Regions from separate parts of the Homo sapiens genome. Here regions 2, 3 and 4 are each linked to region 1. Evidence: promoter capture Hi-C in human tissues and cell types (Jung and others, 2019). All regions are on one chromosome and are shown on one strand. The core of a region is centred on a gene start or on the middle of the fragment in contact, and the rest is flanking DNA. Distances in the headings are between cores, read along the strand shown.

Evidence for each region. Contacts are between HindIII fragments. The study calls those that stand out against the background at their distance.
Region 2: a fragment that was not itself captured here is called in contact with the fragment with the promoter of DZANK1 in region 1 in 2 of the 25 tissues and cell types used here (lymphoblastoid cells and spleen).
Region 3: a contact is called between a fragment that was not itself captured here and the fragment with the promoter of DZANK1 in region 1, in 1 of the 25 tissues and cell types used here (spleen).
Region 4: a fragment that was not itself captured here is called in contact with the fragment with the promoter of DZANK1 in region 1 in 1 of the 25 tissues and cell types used here (spleen).

What each region holds. Positions count from the first base shown.
Region 1 is chr20:18,461,002-18,468,279 of GRCh38, forward strand. DZANK1 (double zinc ribbon and ankyrin repeat domains 1) reads right to left here and starts at 6,029. Exons shown (of 21, transcript NM_001367614.1): 1 at 5,995-6,029; 2 at 4,249-4,376. The coding sequence starts at 4,357. It overlaps POLR3F (RNA polymerase III subunit F), which reads left to right and starts at 6,389. Exons shown (of 9, transcript NM_006466.4): 1 at 6,389-6,567. The coding sequence starts at 6,506. RefSeq lists enhancers at 5,909-6,527, 6,150-6,469. The HindIII fragment of the contact is 23,548 bases long and covers 1-7,278 here.
Region 2 is chr20:18,708,951-18,716,228 of GRCh38, forward strand. All of the region lies in intron 4 of DTD1 (D-aminoacyl-tRNA deacylase 1), which reads left to right. Among named protein-coding and RNA genes, the nearest start is that of DTD1-AS1, 14 kb to the left of the region's middle. The HindIII fragment of the contact is 3,760 bases long and covers 2,705-6,464 here.
Region 3 is chr20:18,256,419-18,263,696 of GRCh38, forward strand. It overlaps the pseudogene RN7SL14P. Among named protein-coding and RNA genes, the nearest start is that of ZNF133, 28 kb to the right of the region's middle. The HindIII fragment of the contact is 6,505 bases long and covers 556-7,060 here.
Region 4 is chr20:18,312,768-18,320,045 of GRCh38, forward strand. ZNF133 (zinc finger protein 133) reads left to right here. Exons shown (of 7, transcript NM_001352452.2): 7 at 2,302-4,229. The coding sequence ends at 4,049. It overlaps ZNF133-AS1 (ZNF133 antisense RNA 1), which reads right to left. Exons shown (of 9, transcript NR_187570.1): 7 at 3,945-4,045; 8 at 3,063-3,232; 9 at 1-1,196. Among named protein-coding and RNA genes, the nearest start is that of ZNF133, 28 kb to the left of the region's middle. The HindIII fragment of the contact is 8,391 bases long and covers 67-7,278 here.

The DNA of each region.
Region 1 (7,278 bases), core at 4,779-7,278:
GCTAGGTTGGATACATAGCCCCTGCTCTTGAACCACTATGCTCTTTTGCCTCTCCAACAGGGCACTGACACAAACATGATTCAAGATTCAAAAGGTCAAAAAGGGTATACAGTGAAAAGTCTCCCCCAACCCACGACACCAGCTTCCCAGAGGTTATCAATGGTATCTTCAGTAACCTTCAAAAATATTTTATATCCATACAAGCATCTATGTACATATTCTTATTTCTCCCTCTCTTTTGACACAAATGATGGCATACTGTACCCTGTTCCACATATTTCTTTTTTCATTTATCAGTATGTCTTATATTGGTACATAAAGAGCTCCCTAGGAAATAAATTTAAATTTTTTTAAAAAAAGAGCTTCCTCATTATTTGTTATAGCTGCACCACATTCTCTTATATAGATGAACAATAATTTAACCAATTCCCTACACATGGATCTTTAGGCTGTCTTCTTTTTTCCTTTTCTTTGTTTCTTTTGCAATTATAAGCACTATAATAAATAATTTTGTAAAGAATTATTTCTGTAAATATATGGGCAAGACAAATATGTAGAACTAGTTACTGCTGAGTCAAAAGATACATGCATTTGTAATCTTTTTTTTTTTTTTTTGAGACGGAGTTTCACTCCTGTCATCCTGACTGGAGTGCAGTGGTGCGATCTTAGCTCACTGCAACCTCTGCCTCCCGAGTTCAAGCGATTCTCCTGCCTGAACCTCTTGAGTAGCTAGGATTACAAGCACCCACCACCACGCCCAGCTAATTTTTGTATTTTTAGTAGAGACGGGGTTTTGCCATGTTGGCCAAGGTGGTCTCGAACTCCTGACCTCAGGTGATCTGCCCACCTCAGCCTCCCAAAGTGCTGGGATTACAGGTGTGAGCCACCATGCCCTGCCAGCATTTGTAATCTTGATTAATATTTCCAAACTGCCCTCCATGGATGGTTAAGCAATTTACACTGCCACCAGCAATGCATGAAAACACCTATTTGACCACAATCTTCCTCATCTAGTGTGTTATCCATTTTTCTTTTAGTTTTCCTAATTTCCTAGGTTAAAAAAAATACTATCTTGTAGTTTCAATTCATCTTTCTTGCATTTTGAGTAAAACTCACTAATTCATTACAATGAATGTTTGCTGAATACCTATTATGTACCAGACATCATTCTAGGTATAGGGGATATGCAAAAGTATATCTTAGGGGCTCCTTGCATATCCCCTGTACCTAGAATGGTCCCTGCTCTCATGGAGATTATGTTTTAGGAAGGACACTGAAACAGTAAACAACCAAGGAAATGTAGTTTGTCAGGTGGTGATTAAGTGCTTGGAGGTGAAGCAGGGATAAGTTCTGCTCAGCAAGCAGACGAAGGGGCAGAGAGAAGCGTAAGGAGAAGAAATATTTTCATATGTTTAAGAGACCTTTATATTTCCTTTCCTACAAAATGTCTTTTCATTATTTCTCAAAAGAAGATATACAAGTGGCCAACACACACATGAAAAAATGCTCATCATCACTAATCATCAAAGAGATGCAAATCAAAACCACAGTGAGACACCATCTCACACCAGTCAGAATGGCCTTTGTTAAAAAGTCAAAAACTAACAGATGTTGCAGAGAAAAGGGACACTTATACACTATTGGCAGGGATGTAAGTTAATTCAGCCACTGTGGAAAGCAGCTTGGAAATTTCTCAAAGAAATAAGAGTTGAGGCCGGGCGCGGTGGTTCACATCTGTAATCCCAGCACTTTGGGAGGCCCAGGCAGGCAGATTAAAAATACAAAAATTAGCTGGGCATGGTGGCACACAACTGTAATCCCAGCTACTCCGAAGACTGAGGCATGAAAATCACCTGAACCCAGGAGGCGGAGGTTGCAGTGACCCAAGATTGCATCACTGCACTCCAGCCTGGGTGACAAAGTAAGACTCGGTCTTAAAAAAAAAAAAAAAAAAAAAAGAAAGAAATAAGAGTTGAAATACCATTCAAGCTAGCAATCCCATTACTGGGTATGTACCCAAAGGAAAATAAATTGTTCTACCAAAAGGACACATGTACCCATATGTTCCTTACAGCACTATTCATAATAGCAAAGACATGAAACCAACCTAGGTGCCCACCAATGGTGAAATGGACAAAGAAAATGTGGTACATACACACCATGGAATACTATGCAGTGATAAAAAAGAATGAAATCATGTCCTCTGCAGCAAATGGATATAGTTGGAGGTCATAATCCTAAGCGAATTAACACAGGAACAGAAAACGAAATACCACGTGTTCTCACTTATAAATGGGAGCTAAACATTAGGTACAAATGGACATAAAGATGGGAACAATAGACACTGGGGACTACCAGAGGGTGGGGAGGGCTGAAAACCTACAGCAATGCTTGCTACCTGGGTTATGGCCTCAATCATACCCCAAACCTCAGCACCACACAATATACCCAGGTAGGAAACCTGCACATGTACCCCCAAGCCTAAAATAAAAGTTGTAAAAGAAAAAACAAAAAAAAGGTCTTTTCATATCCTTTGCCCATTTTTCTTCTGGGTTACTGTTCTTTTTGTTACTGAATTGTGAAAACTATTTATTTATTTGATATTTACATATTAGGGAATTTTGATACCCTACCATTCATATCATCTTTTGTCAATAGTCACCCAACTTCTCCTAAGAATTATGGGCACATACATTAAAATGTTTAATTTGGTTTGACAGTTTAAAAAATTGTATCAGCTTTTAAGCTAAAGGAGAACACAGATAATAATACATATGCTTAGTTAGAACTCTTGGTCTAAGCAGCACAGGGGTCATAACATAAATGCAGATAGTTTGTACACATTTCAGTTATTAAAATATATAATTGGTTAAAAAAAGGCAAAAATTGGAATTTCAAAGTCTTTTTTACACATCTATTTGTTCATATGTTTTACCTGTGAAACTTTCCTTCCTTATGTTAATTATATATGTGTATGTATATATATGTGTATGTGTAGATATACACACATATTTAAGATTTTGAAGAATACGTATTAGCAGGATATACATTCACTGCTTTATTTCTTTTTTCTTTTTCTTTTTTTTTTTTGAGATGGAGTCTTGTTCTGTCTCCCAGGCTGGAGTACAGTGGCGCCATCTCGGCTCACTGCAACCTCCGCCTCCTGGCTTCAAGCAATTCTCCTGCCTCAGCCTCCCGAGTAGCTGGGATTACAGGCATTGGCCACCATGCCTGGCTAATCTTGTATTTTTAGTAGAGACAGGAGGCTGGTCTCAAGCTCCTGACCTCAGGTGATCCACCTGCCTCAGCCTCCCAAAGTGCTGGGATTACAGGCGTGAGCCACCAGGCCTGGCCCTCACTGCTTTATTTCTGTAGTTAGAGTTGAGATTTATTTTCACATTACTATATGCCAAACCCTGTGCACCTCATACATACACGAACCTATTTATCCTCACAATGGCTCTAAGAAGTAGATATTATTATTCCTGTCTTACAGTGAGGTAACAGACTCAAAAAGGCTAAGTAATGTACCCAAGGTCACTAGAAGTTGTCAAGGCAGGGATTAAGTCTCCAACCTGTCTGACTGGAAAGCCTGTATCAGTAGGTCAAATTTATTATACCAGCTAAATAATGAGCATATTGGAAAAGTTTGGGGAGCACCGGGACTTTTTTTTTTTTTTTTTTTTTTTTTTGAGACGGAGTCTTGCTCTGTTGCCTAGGCTGGAGTGCACTGGCGCGATCTCGGCTCACTGCAACCTCCATCACCCAGGTTCAAGCAATTCTCCTGCCTCAACCTCCTGAGTTGCTAGGATTACAGGTGCCCACCACCATGTCTGGCTAATTTTTGTATTTTTAGTAAGACAGAGTTTTGCCATGTTGGCCAGGCTGGTCTTGAACTCCTGACCTCAAGTGATCCACCTGCCTCGGCCTGCCAAAGTTCTGGGATTACTGGTGTGAACCACCGCACCCGGCCAGCACCGGGACATCTTACCTTGGCTAAGGTAAGTCAAGACATTGCTGAAACTATACAAATGAAAGGTTGGTCAAAGCTAACCATTTTAATCTAAATGTATACCACTCTATAAACCATCAATGTACAGCACTGTTTCAAATTTTAGAAGTTTTACAAATTTCCCAAAAAGCTGAGCAAAGAGTGAGAAAGCAGGCAAAGAGATAAACCAGCAACCAGATAACACAAGAAATATGACAATGTTATTTTAAACAATTTCAAACATATGTGATTCTTACCTGATTTCATTTCCAAAAGCGTATTGTTATCAATTTCATGGTTAGCTTTTCCAGGCTGAGGCACTCGTAATGGTATGATCTGAGGGACACACACTGAACCAGCAGTCATTTTCTCTCTCTCTCTCTCTCTCTATATATATATACATATAAATTCCAATGTACACAAAAGCTGAAGAGCAGCACTTAATTTAAATGCAGCAAAACTAGTTAAAACGAGAGAATACTGTTAACATGGCACTACAAATATTATTCCCTTTTTAATTGAAATAATAATTACATTTCATCTGTATTTGCTGTTGAGGTCTTGTGTGGGGTTTTGATTATCTAAATACCTCACTTCTGCGAAAGGAGCATGAATGAATGAGATGGGGAAAAGAAAGAAGTTACTTTAAAAGGACAAATTAAATGAGTAAGGCAAAACAGAGACTATCACTAACGCTCTGACTTGAGTTCCCTGTAAATCATTATCGCCTTTTCCTGCCTCTGGTGTGTGTCAGCTCTCTTGGCTTCAGGGCAAGTCATCATACAAGGGGAACAGAAGTAATTCTGTGTGTACCACAAAATGTTAGTTAGAGCTAACTTTTTTGGGAAAGCTCCGGGTTCACAGCCTTGCCATTATCACCAGAGCAGTTCTAGTATTTGAAAGCTGCAAAGACACTTTAGAAGGACTGCAGAGTACTACTTCTCAGTGGAAAGGAAGTTTGCAAGAATATAAACAGTGACCAATAAACACAAGCCTCCCGTTTCATCTACTGTATTTATAAATCCTGGTATTAATAATTAACTACCAGTATGAAAGCCTTACTGGTCTTTTTGGAGGTGAGGGTGGGGAGGAAGGTTGTCATAATTAATGCACAGAAGGTTTCAGGGGGAAAAAACGCTCACCTTAACACAACAACCATTTACATCTCTGTATTGCCTTTTCAAATTTCATTAATAATCCATAGATTTTGCCCAATTATAATCTACATATTCATTCCATTTTTATAGTCTACTTCTTGCATTCTCACTGTATTATTTAGTTTTCCCTGTACTTATTTATCCATTTGTGGCTGGGCATTTAGGCTATTTCTAGTTTCTTTTTAGTTTTGCCTGTTGCAGTTCTAATAATGCTGATCTGAACATGTCTGCAGTTTGAGCTTTGTCACAGACTGTATTCTCAAAAATGGGGTACCTAAATTTAAGGGGTGAACTTAATGCCTTGTTGGATAGTTCCGGATCTAGGGCCAAGAATATAAACTACAGATACTGACAGCACAACAATAGCTCCTACGGGAGTGTGGCTGGACTTGAGACTTGCCCATAGTCGCATTTCCATTTAAGTGAAAGGCAGATAAAATAAAAGTAGTTGAAAAATTCTAAATAAAAAATATGTAGGAGAGGAAGTAATTCGCGAGCGTCAACTAGCAGCTGCCCTTAGGAAGCTGGGGTGGCCAGTGGGCCCCACGCAAAGGGAATCAAGAAAAAAGGCGGATCCGCCAGGCCCAAATGGCAACGTGCAGTCAACAGGATCCCCAGACCCCTCAACTCTCCCAACGTGGACCGCCCCCTCGCAGCCCGGATCCGGAATCCCGTTTGGTTGTTCCCGCCCATCAGGGGCTGCCAAGGACACCTGCATCCTTTCGGCTGGAGTAAGGGAAGCTCTTCCCCTCCTCTAGCCGCCCTCCTCTTCCTCTAACCGCGGGGCCCGGGATCGGGACCCCTAATGCATCTCTGCCGCGCCCAACCCAGTCGCCAGCCTCTCACCGCCTCTTGCCTCCTCCTTCGCCGCCGCCCGGGTTACCACAGACGCGGCGAGCCGCGCCCCGCCCACTGGGTGCTGGGCAGATGATTGGTGGAGACTCAGCTTCTTAGCAACTAGACCGGCCCCTGCCGCTCCGCAGGGAGCCTGGTACCCGCCTGGAGTTCCTTTCCCAGTGCTTTCCCATAGGCATCTAAGAATATTCCTTCACAGAGTTGCCAAGTGCTAAAAGTTGGTTTCCCAACTCAGAATGAAGGAACCAGGCTTGTGCGTCCGATGGGCATTGACATTCTGGAAAACAAGAATAAGAAGCTGTAGCGGCGCCTGTAAGTGGGCCGGAGCAGGCGCAGCTTGGCCACCTCCCGCCGAAAGGCAAGGAAGGACCGGCTGCGACACGAGGAAGAAGGCCCCTCGGCCTCAGCAGAGCGCTATCCTCCACTGGTTCCCCGGGTTCCCCGGCTTGCTACCGGGCTGCTCCGTGCATCTTTCCCCCCAGGCGTCAGGAACTGCGCCCTCATGGCGGAGGTGAAGGTGAAGGTGCAGCCGCCTGACGCGGATCCGGTCGAAATAGAAAACAGGTAAACCAGTGAGGCTCCGGCTTGGCACTCCATCAGGCGCCCAGTCATTTGGGCAGCTGGACCCCTTCTCCGGGATCCCTTGGGAGTGGCCGGAGCGGGTTAGGTGAGCACGCGGGAAAAACGATTGCGGGGTTCTGGACCCACTTGTTCCTTCCCATCCTGGGAGAGCAGAACTCAAGAAGTTCAAAATGGGTTTGACAGCTTGCAACTTTGTGTAGCTGGCTGGCTTTGCCCTGATACTTTTGGGGAAGTTGTGATGACGTGCTGCCTTCCTACTTTGACGCGATCAGTGCTTTGAGAGGAGCCCTCGGCTTTCTTTCCCTGTAGAACACTTGTGAATACATGTTCTGATCCAGGATCGCTCTTGTCACTAAGGGAACGTCTATGACAAAACGTTTAGGCGGAGTTAGGGCGCAGTTGGTGATTACGAAGTAACATTAAGCCAGGTGGTTTCAGTGCAGTATTGAACTCAAGACTTTTAGGACACCCAAAGCCTCTGCCACTTTTATTTTTATTTGTTTGTTTGTGAGACAGAGTCTCGCTCTGTCGCCAGGCTGGAGTGCAGTGGCGCGATCTCGGTTCACTGCAATCTCCGCCTCCCGGGTTCAAGCGATTCCCCTGCCTTAGCCTCCCGAGTAGCTGGGACTACAGGCTCGCGCCACCACGCCCAGCTAATTTTTTATGTTTTAGTAGAGACGGGGTTTCACCATG
Region 2 (7,278 bases), core at 3,335-5,834, 250 kb after region 1:
AGCTTCAAGACTGGACTTCCTCCCCACTTAATCGATTGCCACTGCTGCGTCCCTTCTTTGTAGAACTTCTGGGGCTATCTCTGCCTGCCTCTAGGACAACAGTGCTTGCTGTTAGACTAGTTCAGACTGTCAGTCTTCACATGTTTTGCAAGCATATTGATGTACAGAGCGTGTTATTTCCCAGCCTCTGTTATAGAATAAGACCCTTTGAAAAGACTTGTACACAATAAATGTGATCAATAAATATGATCACAATAAATATGATCCCCCCTTTGCAAATTCCTTGCAAAGCCCAGGGTTTTATATTGGCAGCCCTGCACAGAAAGGTGCATGTTTATGTAAATCAATGTGGTATGTACCTAGGGTGATATAATCATATAATGAGCTGCAGCTTCTCTTCCTCTTCATCACCATCATCATGTTTGGGTAAAGATGGTTGCCATTTCCCTCCCTCATGGTCATTATTTCTGTATTACTCTCCATACCTCCTTCCATTTCTTTCTGGAAGGTGTTGAAAAATCTTTACCAACCATCTACCTGGCTCCTAAAGGTGCAGGTCATGGCTATGTCTGAGACTGGCAAGTTCTGTCCACAGGTCTCACCAGATGGTTGGGCAGTCCTCCATGGTCATCACCTGTGGGCAGACGGTCACTAAGGGCAATTGGGGGGACAGAATACCTAGGCTGATTGGAGTCATCCTTTTTTTATCAGAGTGCCAGGTAGTTGAATTTGTGTAAATTAGATGTTCTCATGATGCAATTTATAATACCCAGGTGTACTTGGTATAAAACTTCTCCTGGGGAACCTGACAGATGAAAACAGGGAATGGAAGCAGCTGACAAGTCAGGACATTCCAACTTACCTTCATGCCCAGAAGTTAGAGGTCAGGGAGGGGTGGGACACTTTCATTTGTGAGTGGTAGTTCTTTTTTTTTAATGCCTGGAAAACCATTAGAAAACAGGCAATCTGGAAACTTTGGGCCTTACTCCTAATTTCATTTTTGATTTTAGAATGTATTAGGGTAAATAACTTATTCTGCTTGTATTTGAGGATTTGCTGACTTCTGAGAGCACCATGTATTCACTTCCATTATGAATAGGGCAGCTTTATGATATATTGTCTACATTTTGGAGTATTGAGAATGAAGGGGACAAGAGGTATAAACTTTGATTGTCCTGGGCAAACCAGAACATGTGGTCAACCCTAGTTATGAAGATCAATTTAGGTTATTCATCCTAAAACCAGAAATTTTGATAGAACTGACAGGTTAGGTATCATGTCTTATCCTAATAAAATTTTCTATTAAAACTATGTAAATTCAGTTTTATGAAATAAATCTATACCAAGATCATTTCATAAAAAATGGACTTTTTGAGAAAATAAAAAATGACATTGTATTTTCAGAATCTTTCAAACATATTCTGATCTTTTTTTTTTAATTGACAGTGTTTGAAGGTAAATAGTGACCATGGTTTTTGTTAAGAATTCATATGTAAAATATGTCCCTTGTTTAAAATTATCTCAGAGATTACTCTCATTCAAATCTTTAATCAGTCAGTTTATTATTCATAAGTCTGGTGTTTCTAATAAAATTCTACCACATGAAACAGAATGGTGTTTAATAAGATAATAAGCTTTATAAAATGTAAAAGTGAACACCTTAATTATTTTAAATTATATCAACTTTAGAAATGACTGTATAATTAAGACTTGCCTATAGCTTAGAATACTCTTAGGAAAGATTCACTGTACTACTTCTCAGTCAACAGCCCTTAAATGCAGGTGGCTGACAGTGGCCTGTGTTACCAATGTAATTGGACGGTGACATGCCTCTGGCCCTGGATGATAGTGCCACCAGAGCCACATGCCTCCTGTGTAGAGCCAGGAAGGGGCTCTGTGAGTGAGTTGAATCATGGGCCCGTTTTCCCTGTGTTCTCTCCTTTGGCCATTTGAGGGTTAAGGAGGTTGGGCAGACAGTTTTTGCCTTGATGGGTACTGGATACTCTTGTATTCCTATGACAGTACTTGAATTTTTCGTGAAGTTACTTGAAATCACTTTGGTTACTTTGGGTCTGGATCTTATGATTTCTTAGGTGAGTCTGGAGCAGTGCTCAGTAGGACTAATTCTTCCCACTACTGCAGTGAGTCCTTCCTGAGCTCCATGGAGTGGTGGGAGCAGGCGCTATTCTCAGCCCTGTGTGAGCGCAGGTGTTGTAAGCACTAATCTTTTCCTGACCTTGTGTAGTTTCTTTACCTGCTTAGTACTCAGCTGGATGCTCCAGGGGCCTTCTGCACAACTCCACTGTTCTCCCTCTGTGCAGCTGTCTCCTCTCCAGTACTGTGTCCTGAGTGCTTTAGCTGAGTGGCCTCCGGGACTCTCAACCCCATCTCCTTTACTCAGGAAGTCCTCCAGCCTCTGCCTTGGTTTCCCTCTCATACTGTGACCTGTGAACTCTCCCTAGGTGGTCAGATGGAGCTCCCATGGGGCTTACCTGGCTTGTTGTTTCCTGGCCTTTGTTGCCTGAGGTCCTGTGTCTTAACAACTGTTGTTTCTTAGGCTTGTCCTTTTTTTTTTTAAACTTCAATGTGATGGTGTGAGGATAAATTTGGTTCCTGTTGGCCCATCTGGGACAGAAGCAGAAGTGTCAGGACAGTGTTTTTAAAAAATCATGATCTGGTGTAGGTTTTTTTCTCGTGAGCTGTTCTTACTCTGAGTCCTCTTTCTAGGTCAAGGGCGGTATCTGGGTTGCCTTGAAGTCCTTCCTGCTTCATTGTGCTTATTTAGGTAGAAACCTTATTTAAGAATCAGCTCAGGCCAGACACAGTGGCTCATGCCTGTAATCCCAACACTCTGGGAGGTGAGCAGGAGGATCACTTGGGGTCAGGAGTTTGAGACCAGGCTGGCCAACATAGTGAAACCCTGTCTCTACTAAAAATATAAAAATTAGCCAGGAGGCCGGGGTGGGGGTTGCCGGGGGTCGGGGGGCACGTGCCTGTAATCCCAGCTACATGGGAGGCTGAAGCAGGAGAATTGCTTGAACCTGGGAGGTGGAAGTGGTTGCAGTGAGCCAAGGTGGCACCACTGCACTCCAGCCTGGGTGACAGAGGGAGACTCCGTCTCAAAAAAAAAAAAAAATCTAACTTCTTCCACAAATATTTCTTCATCAACTCCATTCTGCATGGGTTTTTCCTTAGAGTACTTAGGGACTCTAGTGTTCAGTGGCATACTGTTACCAGTGTTTCATCTTTGTTTTACAGTGATTAAGTCTTCACTTTCCAAACTTCTTGAGCCAGGGGTTCTTGTTTGTAATTTTTTGTGCTCTCCACAGGGATTAGCACAAGAATAAGCTCATAAACATTAGCAATTGTGTTTTGAAATTCTTTCCTTTGTGACCACAGGACACATATGATATCATTTTCATAAGTACTGTGTGTGTGTTGTGGGGGTGGGGGTGGGGGGGAAGCCAGGATGAAGTAGTGACTCTAATCCCATGATCAGATGTCAGCAAGACTGTCCTTGCTCCCGCAGTGGTCTCTCTCACTTGTGTTTTAGCTGGCTATTCATTTACAATGGAATCATTGGATCATAAGTCAGCATGGACCTCGACCCGAGATCCCATATGAAAACGAAATCTTAACAATGGAGACACATGCCATAAATTAAGGTAATTCCCTCCCACAGGCTTTTCAATAAAGTAGCAGTGGGCCCACTGTGTCTGCAAAGGTCCCCAGTGGAAATAAAACCCCCAAATGCACATATTTGGGATCCACAAGCTTACCGGATACTTCTCTACTGTGGCTTGCTCTAAGCATAGAACAATCATGACCTTACGTGGCTCACGCAGAACCCATTTTACCAGTAGCTGTGTGGACACCGGAATGTTTTCTTCCTTCAGCTCCCCCAAATCCTTTCGTGTACAGACTCCCCTCCTTACCTTGCCACATAAGGTACCAGTTTCATCAGAGGCATCTGGCAAGGCTCTCATGGTTTGACTGTCACCAGATCTCTCTGTAATGGGATTACCATTTTAACCTGTTCTCTTTCCCTCCCCTGTCCTGGGTTTCCACTTTCCCAGCCTTCCTTCTTCCTTTGGCCTTGGCCAGAAGGGGCTGCTGGAGAGCTGTTCCCGGGGCTCACCATAGCCTCTGCTCCCCCTCCCATGGCCTCCTGCCGAGGCTGGCCCTCCGGGCATCTTTTGCAGAGGTCACTCTTTGAAAGATGCCTTTTTTTGTGCTCCTCTGCCAATTGTTCTTTCTGTCTAGTGTGTGTCCTCCTGGCATTTCAGGAGCTGTTTCATGTAGTGTCTGACTTTATAGGTGTGCACCTAATGACTTTAAAAGGCTTATTTTTAGGTTGCTGTTTTCTTCCCCAAACCTTTTTGCTCCTTCAGAAATGTCCTCTTGTTAAAATCTTCCCAGGGTTTCTATGCATGCTTGAGTGCTTGATTCTCCAGTTTGATTGGATGAGCAAGCCCTGCTTCCTGCTTCCTTTAGAAATATTCCACCCTGGAAGGGACCTGACAGGATGGTAGTGGCTGTGGGTGTCTGCATTGGTTGAGCTGCTCAGTGTTTTTGGTCCAGAGACTGGAGCAGGTCCCTGGTGCACAGAAAAGGATTTGGAGGATCCTTAGCCTGGGTTCACGTCCCCACCTTCATCTTCTGACCGTATCCTCCGTTCCTCCTTTGTCAAGCCTTAGGCTGTTTTTTTCTGCATTGGTCTTCCCTGGACATTCTTTTACTTACCTTGGTTCTTCGTTCATGCACTTTCTCTAGACTAAGGTTTCTCTCTGCTCATATAGTTATCCCCATTCTTGAAGGCTGCACTGAAGACCATTCAGTGTCTTCGGCAGCTCTTGATGTTCTCTCCTCAAGGGCAGGTTATACCCTCATTTTGCTCTCCTGTTGTGACATAGCGTGGTTGTGGATAGAGTGGTCCTTCTTGGATGTTCTGTTGCCTTCACGCAGGTGAGCTGCCCAGAGCCCAGCACGGTCTGGGTTCTCATCCAGAGCCTGGTCTGACCTGAGGAGCCCTGACCTCCAGCCTGCACTCCACCGTCTCCTGGAGATGTGACCTGGAAGGCCCAAAGGTCTGCACGCTTTAGCTCACCATCTGTCAGATGGGGGTGACTGTGAGGCCTACCCACCCTTCCTCATCATTGTTAGAGTCAAAGGAAAGGCAGGATGAGAAAGGGGAGTCTATTAGGTAAACACAGAGCAAATTATTTTGCCAAGTCATTTAACCTCTTAGGACCTGGTTTTCTAACCTGTGAAACAAGAAGGCTGTACTAGATATGTATTTTTGGACCAAATAACCTTTTTTGTTTTCCCATTCCCAACCACTTGTGTGTTTGTTTATTTCCTCTGATCTGGGGTACTGTTTCATCAGGCTTCTTGTTCTCATGCTTGGGTTCAAGCTGTTTTTATTAACATAAATCCCCACATTCTGTGCTGATGATTTCTTGCTATGGGGATAATTCTCTTTTTCTTCAAGTTTCCTTCTCCTTGGAGCTAGTTTTAGGACTTTTCATTGACTCTACTCTTCACAGGTAGAGGAGACTAGTTAGGATAAGTAGTTTTTTCCTTTGTTCATTTCTGTGGCTCCTGTGCACGTAGGCTTCTGAAGAAGCACAGATCCGGGGTGGTGGAATTGACAGACACTGTCTCCTGCAGTGCTGCTTGGAACCAGGGTCAAGGCCATCGTCTAAGTGGGACACAGTGAAGCTGTCCTTTAGGAGCACTGAGGCCTCTTCTCTTGGTGTCTTTCTCAGATGAGGAGCAGGTAAGAAGATTAGTTTTGATGAATCATCCAAGTCCTGGAGAAGCTTTAAAAAATTTCTCCTCAGGGCAAAACTAATTTCCTATTTCAACTAGAAGATTTCTTTCAATAGGTGATACCTTCAGTACCCCAAGGAGAAACTGGGTGCCGACACTCCTGCCCCTTCAGCCAAACGCCTGTGTTTGGTGATATGACATTGGTGATATGAACGAATGTCTATTGTCCAGGGCTTTTAAGAAGTCTCTGGTTCCAGTGCACAGGCCTTTCCTAGATTCTAGGCTGTGCAGGCCTTGTCCCTGCTTGTATCTCAGTGACAGCCTGAGGACCAACCCTGACTTTGGACACCAGGCTGGGCCAGCTGGGGCTCTGCCTTTGCTGCATCTGCCATTGGTCCACCCCGAGTGGGTGTCATCCCTGAGTCCTAAGTAGTGACCAACTACTGTCATACACTGTCCCCTCCCCCACTCCATTTCCCCCAGGGTCAGAACACAGCAAGCCCTGTCCCTAAACTTGTACTCCAGGGACATTATGGAAGGGTGCCTGCTCCCCCAGATCACTCCCTTGACTGGGACCCCTGTTGTTGATGGTGTGCTCCAGGCTGAGTCAGCCTCCCCACCCACCCTAGCAGTTGGGGAACTCTTCTGCATATCTGCTTCATCTTTGGATTGTGGCCCTTTGAAGGCTCCCTGTAAGCTCCCTGTCCTGCAGTGGTTGCTAAGTGGTGTCTGGCCGTGTACTGGGCTACAGCATTCACGGTCAGAGAAGCATCAGACGAGACCGGGTGCATTTGGGGTGGGATGGCCATCGACTGAGAAACATCAGAAGAGGAGGCTAAATTAAACCAAGTCACAAAGTAAAGCATATAATTACTATTTCTATTCTGGTGGGGTAAGAGATGGAAACCATTGTTTAAAATGAAACTCTGGGATTTTCTGTGGATGTAATCTATAAAATGGTGACTAACCAAAAGTTGGCAATGCTGGTTTTACTTGCATCCCTAGTGACAAATTATTTGGACTCACATGGAAACATTTCCCATAAACTCTAAAGGCTCATGTGTCAGGTTGTCATTCATAGGCTTCACATTCTGGGCAAACAACAGGTTCATGTCCTGCGCTGCTTTATCTCGGGAGGAGTCGGGTGCTGAGTCTCCAGCATGCAGATATTCTGGTTGTATCTGGAGTCTGTTGTTGGCACTGACTCTTGTTTGGGCTTAGTTTATGTCATGTTTGAAACACAAATTGAGTGATTTGAGGTTGGACCCCCTTACTGTACTGTTGAGTTTGTGCTAAGGAAAGACCAATCCTGCTGTGCTCTTGGTTTGCTAGAAGCTTCAAACTGCTTTTCAGGCATTTGGATTCACCAGCACCCAGCATGTTTCAATGGTACCTTCTTCATCTATTTTAGAGCCATGTGTGTTTTGCAGCAAATGTAACCCATGTGGTTTGTTTCACACACTTCCTCCAAATATTGGTTCAGGATCTGAACCTTTGATATCCCAG
Region 3 (7,278 bases), core at 2,558-5,057, 210 kb before region 1:
AGATCAGAGTTGAAAAATAAGGCTGACCAGGAGTTAGCCAGAGTAAGTGGGAGTGGGGAGATGGAGGAGCCCACAGAGGTGGAGCTCACCTGTTTGCCTGTGATGTAAGGCCTAGAATTTCGTTCAATATTAAGTGCTGCTTTGACATCTGGTCAAACTGAGAGAGCCTAGAATGCTCTAACCACAAATTCCCCTCCCTTCTGCTCTCTTGGATAAGATCCCCTAGCCAAACACGGTGCAGTTCCTGCTTATCTCTGAGCAGTGGGTGTCAGTCAGTTCCCTGTCAGCCTGAGAAATTATTCAAACAAGCCCATCATATTCTGCTGCAGGAATCAGGAATCACCCTACCCTTTTGATAGCACAAAGCCTGACTCCAGACCCTGGCTATTCACTCTGTTCCCAAGTGTAGCCCCTGTGGCCCTGCGTGCTATGCTGTGTTCTGATCCAGAATGTGAGTTATAAACTGCCGTCATCTCATCTGTCCAGTGTGAGGTGTCCTGTGTTTGGCCATCCCCATAACCCTGGAACAGGAATCCCTTTCTCACCAGCAGGATGAATAGCAGGTGATTAAAACAATCCCTGTAAGGGGTCTGTGTGCAAAGCCATCAATCAGCATTGCTCAAGGATCCCCTGAGGTTGGGAGCAACAGGATGGCTGCTAAGGAAGTGGTCAGAGACCAGCCCCGGAAAGTTTTAGTCCCTTTTAACCAGCCATTGCAGATCATAGTGGCGGGAGCCCCTGGGGGGTGTCGAGCAGGGGTTAGCCCCCTGGCCAGATCTGAGTTGTTGTTTTATTTTATTTTATTTATTTATTTGTTTATTTTACTTTAAGTTCTAGGGTACATGTGCACAACGTGCAGGTTTGTTACATATGTATACATGTGCCATGTTGGTGTGCTGCACCCATTAACTCGTCATTTACATTAGGTATATCTCCTAATGCTATCCCTCCCCACTCTCCAGATCTGAGTTTTAAATAGATGGTTCTGGCCAGTGTGTGGGCTGGGTTTGAAGGGGATGAGACTAAAAGGAGCAAGTCTGATTAGGGAGTCACTGCAGGTGCCCAGGTAAGAGACGATAGGACCTCAACTAGGACCAGAAATGGAGGGGTAGAGAGAGAAGGTGAGCCTTGGAAGGTGTTTATAATGCAGAAAATATAATTGGGTTGGCCCCACTTCTTCAAAAGACAGCAAATATGTGTTGAATACACTAGTGCATGCATGAATATTAATTGAGATTTTATTGGGCCTAGGAGAACTGCAGGGTAAGGTTGGGCAGGGTGGGCACTTCCCAAAGGCGCCAGTCATGGGGGTGAGGGCTGTAGGGTCCGCTCTGCACTCTGCTCACCAAGTGCAATACAGAGGTTTGCAGAGGGCAACATGGAGACCTAAGACAAAGATATAGCCCCCCAGGTGCTGACCGATTCGTAGACGTGAACTATGGCTATGACTGCATGCTAAATTGCTGATTCCGGCTAGGTGGGCAGAAGAGTTCTGAATAGGCTGATGCCATTTCTCTCCATGTTCTCCTGTAAGATAAGAGCTGGGCTTCTTGAACCAAAAAAGTTTTACTTTTTTCCTGGGGGTAGAATTAACCTTCAACCTGTTGACTCAAGTGTGTATTAACCAATAATCTAAATTAAAAACTTTAAAAAGTCAAGGCCGGTTATCAAGGTCCTCTGAAGTGTGATTTCAAGAGAAAATTTAGAAATATGAGAAACTCAATGTATTAAACACCAAAGGGCTTTATGTCAGTGGTTCTCAATCTTGGATGTGCATTAAAACATCTGGGGGCCCTTTTAAAATACTTAAACCTGAGCTGCATGCCCCGCGCTTTTGATTCAGTTTGAGAGGGGCAGAGCTCGGGGATCTGTATTTACGTTATCATTCTCGGAACAGCTCTAGAGGGCACTGTCTGCCAGATGTTAGCTCACGCCCTGGCAGAAAACGCCATCGTGAGAACAGCAGGCACCATTTTTCTGGACTTTTAAAATCATTAGCTTTCAGGCAAATACTGAGTAATCTCATTCACATGTAGAATCTATTTTTTAGCTTTTTAATTAAATTTTTTCCTTTTTAAAAAATTTATTTTATTAAAAATATTAGTTTATACAAAAAATTTAAAATTTCCTTTTTTAGAGATGGGGTCTTGCTATGTTGCCCAGGCTTGAGTACAGTGGCTAGTCACAGGCCCAATCCCACTCCAAACAGCAAGGGAGTTTTGACCTGCTCCGTTTCCAACCTGCACTGGTTCACCCCTCCTTAGGCAACCTGGTAGTCCCCTGTTCCCAGGAGGTCACCGTATTGATGCCGAACTTAGTGCAGACACCCAATCAGCATTGCACACTACAGCCCAGAACTCCCAGCCTCAAGCGATCCTCCTGCCTCAGGCTCCCAAGAAGCTGGGACCACAGGCATGTGCCACTGCACCCAGCAACATGTGGAATCTAAGAAAGTTGATCATAGAAGCAGAGAGAATAGTGGTTACCAGATCCTGGGGAGGGGAGGGTTGGTCAACCAGTACAAAGTTACAGTTAAGAAGAATAAGTTCTGGTGTTCTATTATACAATAGAGTGACTATAACTATTAATAATAATAATGTATTATATATTTCAAGATAGCTAGAAGAGAGGATTTTGAATGTTAACACTACAAAGAAATAATAAATGCTTAAAGTGATAAATGTGCTAATTGTGCTAATTATGCTAATATGATTATTATACAATGTACCATGTATTAAAACATCATACTGTACCCCATAAATATGTAGAATTATGTGTCAAGTATAGATAAAATAAAACTAAAAAAAATCGCTAGCTTTCATTACCTAGTTTTATTCACACATTATACTAAATCAATGCTCAAAAGTCTTGTTCATGTTCAGACAAAACAATCAAGATTTATAAGTATAGGGAAGCTTCAAGTTGAAAAAATTGATATCCAAGAAGATTCCATCTTGATTTGAACTTAGGCACATTATCAAGCATTTGAAGGGCTAGTTGTTATCCCTTCTGTTGCAGCTGAAAGCCCTGATAAATTAGTTAGGTTGACATCTTAAATTCTCATGACAAATTTTGTTTCATCTCCCTGCCCCAAAGTAAGCCATAAATCAAGCTTTACAAGGACTTAGAGGACTTTTGGCCTGGCATGGTGGCTCACACCTGTAATCCCAGCACTTTGGAAGGCCAAGGCAGGCGGATCACAAGGTCAGGAGTTCGAGACCAGCCTGGCCAACATGGTGAAACCCTGTCTCTACTAAAAATACCAAAAAAATTAGCCAGGCATGGTGGTGCACACCTGTAATCCCAGCTACTCGGGAGGCTAAGGCAGGAGAATTGCTTGAACCCAGGAGGTGGAGGTTGCAGTGAGCCAAAATTGCGCCACTGCACTCCAGCAGCCTGGGCAACAGAGCAAGACTCTGACTCAAAAAAAAAAAAAAGACTTAGAGGATTTTTTTCCCCCTAATAAGTTTCCCAAAGGGTGTGGCAGAGTCTGGAGAAACCTGCTTTTCATGTGCTCCTTGGTTCAGCTGCCTGCTCCCCTGTGGCTTTTAGCAATTTCTTCTTCTGTTTCCGCATCAGTGTAATTAGCAAAAGGCACCATATCCCTGAGGACAACACCCACAAAAATATGAGACTCTACAGCAAGTACTTGCAAAACCTAGAAAAGACACATACCCCTCCCCTAACATGCTTCAATTCCAAGACAACTCATTAATTCATAGAGTAATGTATGTGAGCAAACAGAGAAAATTATGAACTCCAAAGTGAAACCTGGCTAAAGATGTGTAATATAATAAATATATTTACATGCAAAAATAAAGATATCTACATGTGACATATATATGGATCCATATATATGGTGGGATTATTTATTTATAGTAGAATTCCCCAAACTTTCTCAGCTCATTGCACCCTGAGCATCTCAGTAATTTTTCACAGCACCTCCTAGGCCAACAAGAATACCCCAAACTTCCATTATTAGGTTCATACAACATAAGTATTTAGTAGCCACTGAAAAAATACACATAACTCCTAAAAAATTTACTTCCCCCTAAAATAAACATCCTTAAATAAGTTAAATATGAACGTGCCTACTGGGCACTCCACAACTTCTCAAATCCGGAGTCTGGTTGGAACTGACACCTTCACTGCCTGCACCACCACGGACCTTCAATGGTACTTTTTTTTTTGTCACAGCAAACACTGGAAAGTCAGCTTCGCAAATATATAATATCATTAAAAGGAAGGAGCATGGTCTAATGATGAAATGTGAAATACGTCAAGCCAGTCTCAACCTCTCCGAGGCTCAGTTTCCTCACCCTGGAAAGGTAATAAAATAAATGCATGCTTTTTTTTTTTTTTTCCTTCGGAGATGCAGTCTTGCTCTGTTGCCCAGGCTGGAGTACAGTGGGCGATCTCGGCTCACTGCAACCTCCGCCTCCTGGGTTCAAGCAATTCTCCTGCCTCAGTCTCTGGAGTAGCTAGGATTACATGTGCCCGCCACCACGCCCGGCAGATTTTTGTATTTTTAGTAGACATGGGTTTTCACCATATTGGCCAGGCTGGTCTCAAGCTCCTGATCTCTTGATCCACCCGCCTCGGCCTTCCAAAGTGCTGGGATTACAGGTGTGAGCCACCGCACCTGGCCAATGCATGCCTTCCCTACTTAACAGTTGTGAAAAATGAGTGGGATAAAGTGTAAAAAATATCTCTCAGCACTATAATGCACTATAATAATAGACACTTTTTTTTTTTTTTAAGACAGAGTTTCGCTCTTGTTGCCCAGGCTGGAGTGCAATGGCACGATCTCGGCTCACCGCAACCTCCACCTCCCGGGTTCAAGCGATTCTCCTGCCTCAGCCTCCCGAGTAGCTGGAATTACAGGCATGTACCACCATGCCCGGCTATTTTTTTTTGCATTTTTAGTAGAGACAGGGTTTCTTCATGTTGGTCAGGCTGATCTCGAACTCCCAACCTCAGGTGATCCGCCCGCCTCGGCCTCGCAAAGTGCTGGGATTACAGGCATGAGCCACTGCACCCGGCCAATAATAGACACTCTTATGTGTAGTAATAATTACTAAAAATAATAAATTGGAAATGATCACAAGACAAATGGAGTTAAGAAATTAAATACTATGTATTTTGAAAATTATCATCATCTTTAAATCTTGCTACTCAGCATGGCCCCAGGACCAGCAGCAGTGAGAGCTTGTGAGATGAGCCGAGATTGCGCCATTGCACTCCAGCCCCGGCAACAAGAGCGAAACTCCGTCTCAAAAAAAAAAAAAAAAAAAAAAAAAAAGAAATGCAGATTCTCGGGCTTCATCTCAGACTTGCTGAATCAACACCTGCATTTTAACAAGATGCCCAGGTGTTTATGTGCACATTAAACTTTAGGATGGGAGCCAAACGATAAGAACTTTTGAACACAAAGGAGGAAACAACAGACACGGGTCTACTTGATGGGGGAGGGTGGGAGGAGGGAGAGGAGCAGAAAAGATAACTATTGGGTACTGGGCTTAATACCTGGGTGATGAAATAATATGTACAACAAGCCGCCATGACACGTGTTTACCTACGTGACCTTCACATGTACCCCCAAACCTAAAATAAAAGTTAAAAAAAAATTTAGGGAACACCAGTTCAATTTATTTACATTATTTTAAATTGGATAGTTTTAGTAAACTTACTTCTTCCAATCACAATGTAGTAGAAATCAATAACATAGGGAAATCTTGGAAATATCCAAAGGTTTGGAAATTAAATGACACACTTCTAAATAACCCATAGATCAAAGAAGAAATCACGGAAATTAGAAAAATATTGAAACTGAATGAAAATTAAAACACAACATGTCAAAACAAATGGAATGCCTCTAAAATAATACTTAGAGGAATGCTTATAGCACTAAACACCTATATTTTAAAAGAAAAAGGTCTCAAATCAATTACCTATGCTTCCACTTCAGGAACCCAGAAAAAGAAGAACAAATCGAACCCACACTAAATGGAAAGAGAAACTAGTAAAGATCAGAGCAGCTGGGCACAGTGGCTCACGCCTGTAATTCCAGCACTTTGGGAGGCCGTGGCAGGCAGATCATGAGCTCAAGAGATCAAGACCATCCTGGCCAACATGGTGAAACCCCGTCTCTACTAAAAATACAAAAATTAGCTGGGCATGGTGGTACACGCCTGTAGTCCCAGCTCCTTGGGTGGCTGAGGCAGGAGAATCACTTGAGCCCTGGAGGCGGAGGTTGCAGTGAGCCGAGACTGTGCCAGAGCCAAAATCAATAAAACAGAAAATAAAAACAATAGAAAAATCAATGAAACATAAAAAGTTGGTTATTTGAAAAGTCAACAAAATTGATAACTGTTTAGCTAGACTGACAAGAAAAAGAGAATGAAGATATAAACTTCCAAAATAATCAAGATGAAGGAGGATGCATCACTGCATGCCCAACAGAAATCATAAGAATTAAAAGGAACTATTACAACTTTATGTCAATAAATTAAACAAGTTAGATGAACCAAATTCCAAGCCAGGAAACTACTAAAACTGACTCAAAATAACATAAAATCTGAATATGTTAACATCAGTTATAGTTAGTAATTTTATCCATTAGGATTAGTAATTTAAAATCTTCTCACAAGGAAATCCCAGGCCCAGATTGTTTCCCCAGAATTCGTTTGATGAAGTCCCTTGTAAATTCTATCAAACATTTAACGAAAATGAATGGGCTAGTACAATCCAACACAAATTCTATAAATAAGTATTATAGAAAGGTAAAGAACAATTTCCAACTCATTTTATTAAGCCAGTATTACCCTGACACCAAAGCTAAAGACATCATAAGAAAAGAAGACTATGGGTCAGGTGCAGTGTCTCATGCCTGTAATCACGGGATTTTGGAAGGCCAAGGTGGGTGGATCACTTGAGGCCAGAAGTTTGAAACCAATCTGGCCAACACGGCAAAACCATGTCTCATCTCTACTAAAAATCAAAAATAAAAATAAAAATAAATCAGCTGGGCGTGGTGGTACATGCCTGTAATCCCAGCTACTTGGGAGGCTGAGGCATGAGAATCATGTTGAACCTGGGAAGTGGAGGTTGCAGTGAGCTGACAGCATGCCTCTGCACTCCAGCCTGGATGACAGAGCGAGACTCTGTCTCAAAAAAAGAAAAGAAGACTGAACAAATAGCTCTCATGAACAAAGATGCAAAATCCTTAACAAAATATTAACAAATGAAACCCAAGAACATATAAAAAGAAATTGTGGT
Region 4 (7,278 bases), core at 3,012-5,511, 150 kb before region 1:
GCAGTGGCGCAATCTCGGCTCACTGCAACCTCCGCCACGCAGGTTCAAGCACCTGCCTCAGCGTCCTGGGTAGCTGAAATTATAGGTGCACACCACCACAACCAGCTAATTTTTATATTTTTAGAAGAGACAGGGTTTCACCATGTTGGCCAGGCTGGTCTCAAATTCCTGACCTCAAGTGATCCACTCGACTCAGCCTCCCAAAGTGCTGGTACAGGCGTGAGCCGCTACACCTGGCCTGATTTTTTTTTTTTAATTTAGTTATTCTCGAGTTTTTAAATTTTAAATTTGTGTCAGTGCCCATTAGTCTCTATAAACCTATCAGTGCAGGAGCACCTTAGATTTAAAATATTTTATAAATAAATTCATTAACCTGGTAATATTTTGTGTTAAAATTTCTTCTAAGACTAAATATTCCTAGTGTATACACAGAATGCCAAATTTGGTGACCAACTGAAAAAACTGACTAATGGAGAATTAAAGTTTTGTTTTTCTTCTGTCACTCCATACAAATGTTAAAACCATGTTGAATTAAGATTTCTCTGAAGGCGCTTCTATAATTCTGAAATACATTTAGTGTAAATAAAAGCCTGCCACTTTACACATAGGCACAGCAGCTAGGGCTGTAATAAGCCTACATATCAGAAGCCTTGGTTCTTATAAGGGTGGGTGGGAGGTATTACCTGTGTCAAAATTATAGTCACTGTGCTTAACTCAGGACAGACACAGGAGTTCCTTTTACTGCTGAAAGACCTACTTACCCATGACTATGCCCTAATATGTATGAAGGTAAGCCAAGGAGATATGAGCTGTTGCTTCCCTTCTCCTGTCGTATTCAAGAGAAACAAAATAGCCAATAAATCAAATCTGACAACTCCACCCAACTCAAGTTTCCATAATGTCAAGGAAGTTGCTGGCCAGAAATAGAACACAAAATCAGTTATGAGTTGTGGAACCTCAGACAACCTAGATTAAACCAAATAAACTTAGTGAGAACTCAGTGAAAGCAGGTAGGATTTACTGCTGAAAAAGGGTCTTGAGGGACCACCCGGCACCTGTCCTGAATACAAGGGCTGGAAGAGCAGGCTTTCTCTGCAGGAGCTCCTCAGCACTGGCGTGGGGAGAGGCAGGCATCAGGTTAGATTGTTGGTTCCTCTGTCTGTCATCAAAGCCTGAGGTAAAGGCCACCAGAGCTACTGAAAGGAGAAAAGTTGAGCTTATTTACTGGCCAGGCAGTGAAACACAGAAGGGAAGACATTCACTTGGGCAGTTTGCTGAGTAGGAAGAGTCAGGAATTTTTAAGTGGTAAGAAAAGGTGGTTCTGCTCATTGTAATTAGGATTGAAAAGTAGCATTTCGCGTAGCATGGAATAATTCTGGAATGTGGATGTGTACACTTTTAATAAGCTTGATTTTTCATTGGTCAAGAAAAGAGCATTCGGGTAGATCCATCGAGATCTCTACCTCGTTACTCATATTGCCTGGTCATTGATTGCCTTCAGCTGACTAGACCCAGTTGTGATAAAACAATATACTCAATGTTGACATCTCCTACACAAGAGGCACTATAAGTAGAAATTTCTTCTTTTACACTGATTTTTGGGGAAAATTTTATTTACACTAATTATGGAAATAGGTTGGGGGTACCAGGAGGGAGCATCCTTTAAAGTCATTGGGGACCTGGGCTCTGTGTTGTCCACTGCTGAAAGCCTACTGCCTCCTAGAAATTCTGGCATAGAGTAATCTAACAAATCTTTGTTGAGTGGGGAGACAGCAGCTCGGGTGTGTCACATACTGTTTCACTACCCTCTCATGCTCCTCCCTACACCAGGGCTTCTCTGTTCACTCTAAATAACTGCTTTCTCAATCCATCCCCTTGTCCTCATAGGGAAATAAGGAAGGACATTTCCACATGAGTCCTAGGGTTAGACATCTTTCCATCAAAGAAGAAAGTACTTGTGGACATGATTTATCTCAGTGTGCATGGTTGTGAGTTAGAAGGTAATTAATTGTATTGAAGGTGAGGGGGAACTGTTCCATACTGGCCCTATTTACACACCCAAAAATGCCAGGGATGCTTGTGTAGTCTTATATGTAGAGCAGGTCTTAACAAGTGGGTTTTCTAGATTGTAATGCTAGACGTAATAAGTAGCAGTAGGCTGGAGAGTAGGCCATGTAAAGGAAGTCCCGGTTGGATGGCACTTAAGGCCTAAGTGTTTTGAAGCCTAGGGGATCTGACTAAGCTGATTGCTCAGGCTGCCCACTGAGGACTCAGTTGTGACTCACACTTTTCTCTCTGCAGCAGATCCAGAGCCAGAGCTCTACCTCGATCCTTTCTGCCCTCCGGGTTTCTCCAGTCAGAAATTCCCCATGCAGCATGTGCTGTGTAATCATCCCCCCTGGATCTTCACATGCTTGTGTGCAGAAGGTAACATCCAGCCTGGGGATCCGGGCCCAGGGGACCAGGAGAAGCAGCAACAAGCCTCTGAGGGGAGACCCTGGAGTGATCAAGCAGAAGGTCCTGAGGGAGAAGGTGCCATGCCTTTGTTTGGAAGAACCAAGAAAAGGACTCTGGGAGCGTTCTCCAGGCCACCCCAGAGGCAGCCAGTCAGCTCTCGGAACGGCCTCAGAGGGGTGGAGTTAGAAGCCAGCCCAGCTCAGTCAGGGAACCCTGAGGAAACAGACAAATTGTTGAAGAGGATAGAAGTCTTAGGATTTGGAACAGTCAACTGTGGAGAGTGTGGACTGAGCTTCAGCAAGATGACAAACCTGCTCAGTCACCAGCGGATACACTCAGGGGAGAAGCCCTACGTGTGTGGGGTATGTGAGAAGGGCTTCAGCCTAAAGAAGAGCCTCGCCAGACACCAGAAGGCACACTCGGGGGAGAAGCCAATTGTGTGCAGGGAGTGTGGACGAGGCTTTAACCGGAAGTCAACGCTAATCATACACGAACGGACACACTCCGGTGAGAAACCTTACATGTGCAGTGAGTGTGGGCGAGGCTTCAGCCAGAAGTCAAACCTCATCATACACCAGAGGACACACTCAGGGGAAAAGCCTTACGTGTGCCGGGAATGTGGCAAAGGCTTCAGCCAGAAGTCAGCTGTCGTGAGACACCAGAGGACACACTTGGAGGAGAAGACCATCGTGTGCAGTGACTGTGGCCTGGGCTTCAGCGACAGGTCAAACCTCATCTCCCACCAGAGGACGCACTCTGGGGAGAAGCCCTACGCCTGCAAGGAGTGTGGGCGATGCTTCAGGCAGAGGACCACCCTTGTCAACCACCAGAGGACACACTCAAAGGAGAAGCCCTATGTGTGCGGGGTGTGTGGGCACAGCTTCAGCCAGAATTCAACCCTCATCTCTCACAGGCGGACACACACTGGGGAGAAGCCGTATGTTTGTGGGGTGTGTGGGCGAGGCTTTAGTCTCAAGTCACACCTCAACAGACACCAGAACATACACTCAGGAGAGAAGCCCATTGTGTGCAAGGACTGTGGCCGGGGCTTCAGCCAGCAATCCAACCTCATCAGACACCAGAGGACGCACTCAGGCGAGAAGCCCATGGTGTGTGGGGAGTGCGGGCGAGGCTTCAGCCAGAAGTCAAACCTTGTTGCACACCAGAGGACGCACTCAGGGGAGAGGCCGTATGTGTGCCGAGAGTGCGGGCGAGGCTTTAGCCACCAGGCCGGTCTCATCAGGCACAAGCGGAAGCACTCGAGGGAGAAGCCCTACATGTGCAGGCAGTGTGGACTGGGCTTTGGCAATAAGTCAGCTCTAATTACACACAAGCGGGCTCACTCGGAAGAGAAGCCTTGTGTGTGCAGAGAGTGTGGCCAAGGCTTTCTCCAAAAGTCACACCTCACCTTACATCAAATGACACATACGGGGGAGAAGCCATATGTGTGCAAGACGTGTGGGCGGGGCTTCAGCCTCAAGTCTCACCTCAGCAGACACAGGAAGACCACGTCTGTCCACCACAGACTGCCAGTGCAGCCCGACCCTGAGCCGTGTGCAGGGCAACCTTCGGATTCCTTATACTCTCTCTGAAGGCAAAGATGGGGACAAGGACTAAGAGTCAGAATGTTGACACTTTGATGAAATGGAGTAGAGAAATGCATTCTGTAAGTGGTCAAAGGACATTTGACTGTTTACTTTCTCCACACTAAGTCTTCTCCATGTTTTGTGGCCTTCGGTTGTAATAAACTTGGCTTCTTTATACATCTGTAACTGTGCCTGTGTCCCTCATTCACTCATCTATAACAGGGATAAGGAATGATACAGACATCTGAAACCCTTAAGTCCACTATTCCACAGGAATTCATTTCCTCGGAAAACAAGAACCAAATCATTTGCAGATTTATTAGAAAGACTGGACCTTTGTATGGGGAGAGAATCTAGGAACTACATAAAGAGATTTCATGGGATGGGAGGGGATCTTCCAGAAAGTGTAGCTTCCTCTAGTCCGGCTCCATCTGCAGCTACCCCCATCCCTTGGCTCTGACAGCCCCTTTCCTGCTTCTCTCCTCCCAGCTTTCAAACATCTCCGTTGTTGCCTTTGCCCCTGACTACCTTTGTTGTGTTTCTCAGGCTTTTTTAGTCCCTGGTCCTTCCATCGGGGGCCCTCTCACCAATACATTGTCCCCAGCACTCCAGTCCCACGGCCTGGTCTTGCAGCTGTGACCAAGCAGAGCCTTGGATCTCAGTTACACCCATATCAGACCACCAAGAAAATAGATAATCTCCAACCACCCCCAGCTATACCACCTCATCAGCACCTCCATAACTACAGTCAGGCACTGCATAATGTTCGTCTGCGACGGACTGCATATACAGTGGTGGGCTGGTAAGATTATAGTGGAGCTGAAAAATTCCCGTTACCTAGTGACTTTGTAGACCTCCCAGTGGGACAAGATACAGAGGTGGATAAGACAGTGATATGGATCCTGACCCTGTATAGACCTAGGCTAATGTGTGTGCTTGTGTCTTCGTTTTTAACAACAACAACAACAAAAATTTAAAATTTTTAAAATAGAAAAAGCGTATAGGATAAGGATAAAACAAAAAATATTTTCGTACAGCTGTACAGTGTGTTTTTGTTTTAAGCTAAGTTACAAGTGAGTCAAAAAGTAAAAAAATTTAAAGCGTATAAAGTTAAAAGCTACAGTAAGCTAAGGCTAATTTATTATTGAAGAAAGAAAAATTTAAAAATAAATTGAGTGTAGCCTAAGGGTACAGTATGTATGTCTGTAGTAGTGTATAGTAATGTCCCAGGCCTTCACACTCACTCACCACTCACCGCCTCGCCCAGAGCAACTTCCAGTTCTGTAACTTGCCATGTATGGTAAGTGTCCTATACAGGTGTACCATTTTTTTTTTGGCTTTTATGTTGTATTTTACCTTATTTTTTCTATGTTTAGATGCATAGACTCACCCAGAGCAGCTTCCAGTTCTGCAACTTACCATTTATGGTAAGTGCCCTCTACAGGTGTACCATTTTTTTTGTCTTTTATGCTGTATTTTACCTTACTTTTTCCATGTTTAGATGCACAAATAACTTAGCATTGTGTTACAGTTGCCCACAGTACTCAGTGCCTACAGTACTCGGTGTAACCTGCTACACAGGTTTGTAGCCTAGGAGCAATAGGCTATACCATATAGCCCAGGTGTATAGTAGGCTGTGCCATCTAGGTTTGGTAAGTACACTCTATAGTGTTTGCAAAATGACTAAATTACCTAATGATTTCTCAGAACATATCCTTGTTAAGCAACACTTGACTGTATATGACAATCTTTAACCATGTGTCTTCCTCAGCCCTCCAATAACAGAGATTAAACCCTTGAAGCCACATTCCCCAATCAGTCCTGTAATACCAGTGTTTAGGACTTTGAATCATGCTCCTCTATCCCAGGACCCAGTCCCCATGTCAGTCATCAGGTAACTGATCTAAGGTCTTTAAGCCACACAGTCTCAATAGTTATCCTATCTCAGGGCTTAAGGTATTTAACCCTACATAAATATTATTAACCATACCTCCTTCAGTGTCTGGTTTTGCTCAAAATAAGTGTCCTTCAAGGTAAAGATCATCTCAAGGGTGCAACTGTAAGACCCCTTTTTAAGACTTCAGAAATATTTAAGTGTGTGGCTCCTTGACTATACACAAAATGGTTCTAAATTTTAAGGGAATCATCCCATAGCACCTTGACACTCAACCCAAATGAGAGGCTTGTCCTGAAGAGCTTTGTGGATATGGGTTTTGTCTAATGGAATGAGCTTCAATAAGAGGCATACCCTTAACGTTTGTAACAGGAACACCAGCTTGCTCTGAAAAGGACAGAAAAGCCCCTACCTCTTTCTATGGGCAGGGAGGCAGGGTGAGAAACCTACTAAGCTGCAAGCACAGGCCATTTCTCATGGAAAAGGAGGAATAACTTGGACTGCAGACATCATGGAGAATCACTCTCAGGGGCAGTACGGTGCTACTAAGGTAACTGGTGGCATGTGCCCAGCTGAACTGCTGAATTTCTATGAACCAGTACCTGCTATTTCCCCATTTTTTGATAGAAGCACTTTTTCAGGGATAGTTATCCCTGAATCTACACTGGGTGTTAGATATGCTGCTTTGGTTCCCAGGTCTTCAGATAAAGCATCATCTACACCTTGACCTGATTTAGAGAATGAGATCCCGATCTTTGAGCCAATGCCATAGTGGGATAAGACTTTGGAGGCATCTTAGGAGGGATGAGTATATATTTCACATGGAATGGATGTGTGAAAATCGTCTCCAAGATGGACGTAATCAATTCGTCCCTCCCTATATCTTTATTATGAGATGGGGTGAAGGGGAGTGACCTGTTACCTTCCCCATGTATCTGGGCTGGTCTTAGTGACTTGCTTCATCAAGAGGGTATAGCAGAAATGATATTATGGGACTTCTGAGACTAGTTCATAAGAAGCCATGCAGCTTCTACACTTTGAACCCTGCTGCCATGCTGTGAAAACTTCTAGTCACATGGAGAGGCCTCATAGAGGTACTCTGGTAATCAGCCATAGCTGAGCTAGCCAACAGTGAGCCTCAACTGCAGTCACATGGGAGAGCTATTTTGGAGGCCTGCCCTGTCAGGCCTTTCAGACGACTGAAACCCTAGGTGACATCTGCAACCAAGTGAGGGACCTCAAGTGAGAACCATTCAGCTGAGTTCAGTCAACCTATAGAACTGAGGCATGATGATAGTAGTTGTTTTAAGCCTCAAATTTTAGGATTGTCTGTTATACAGG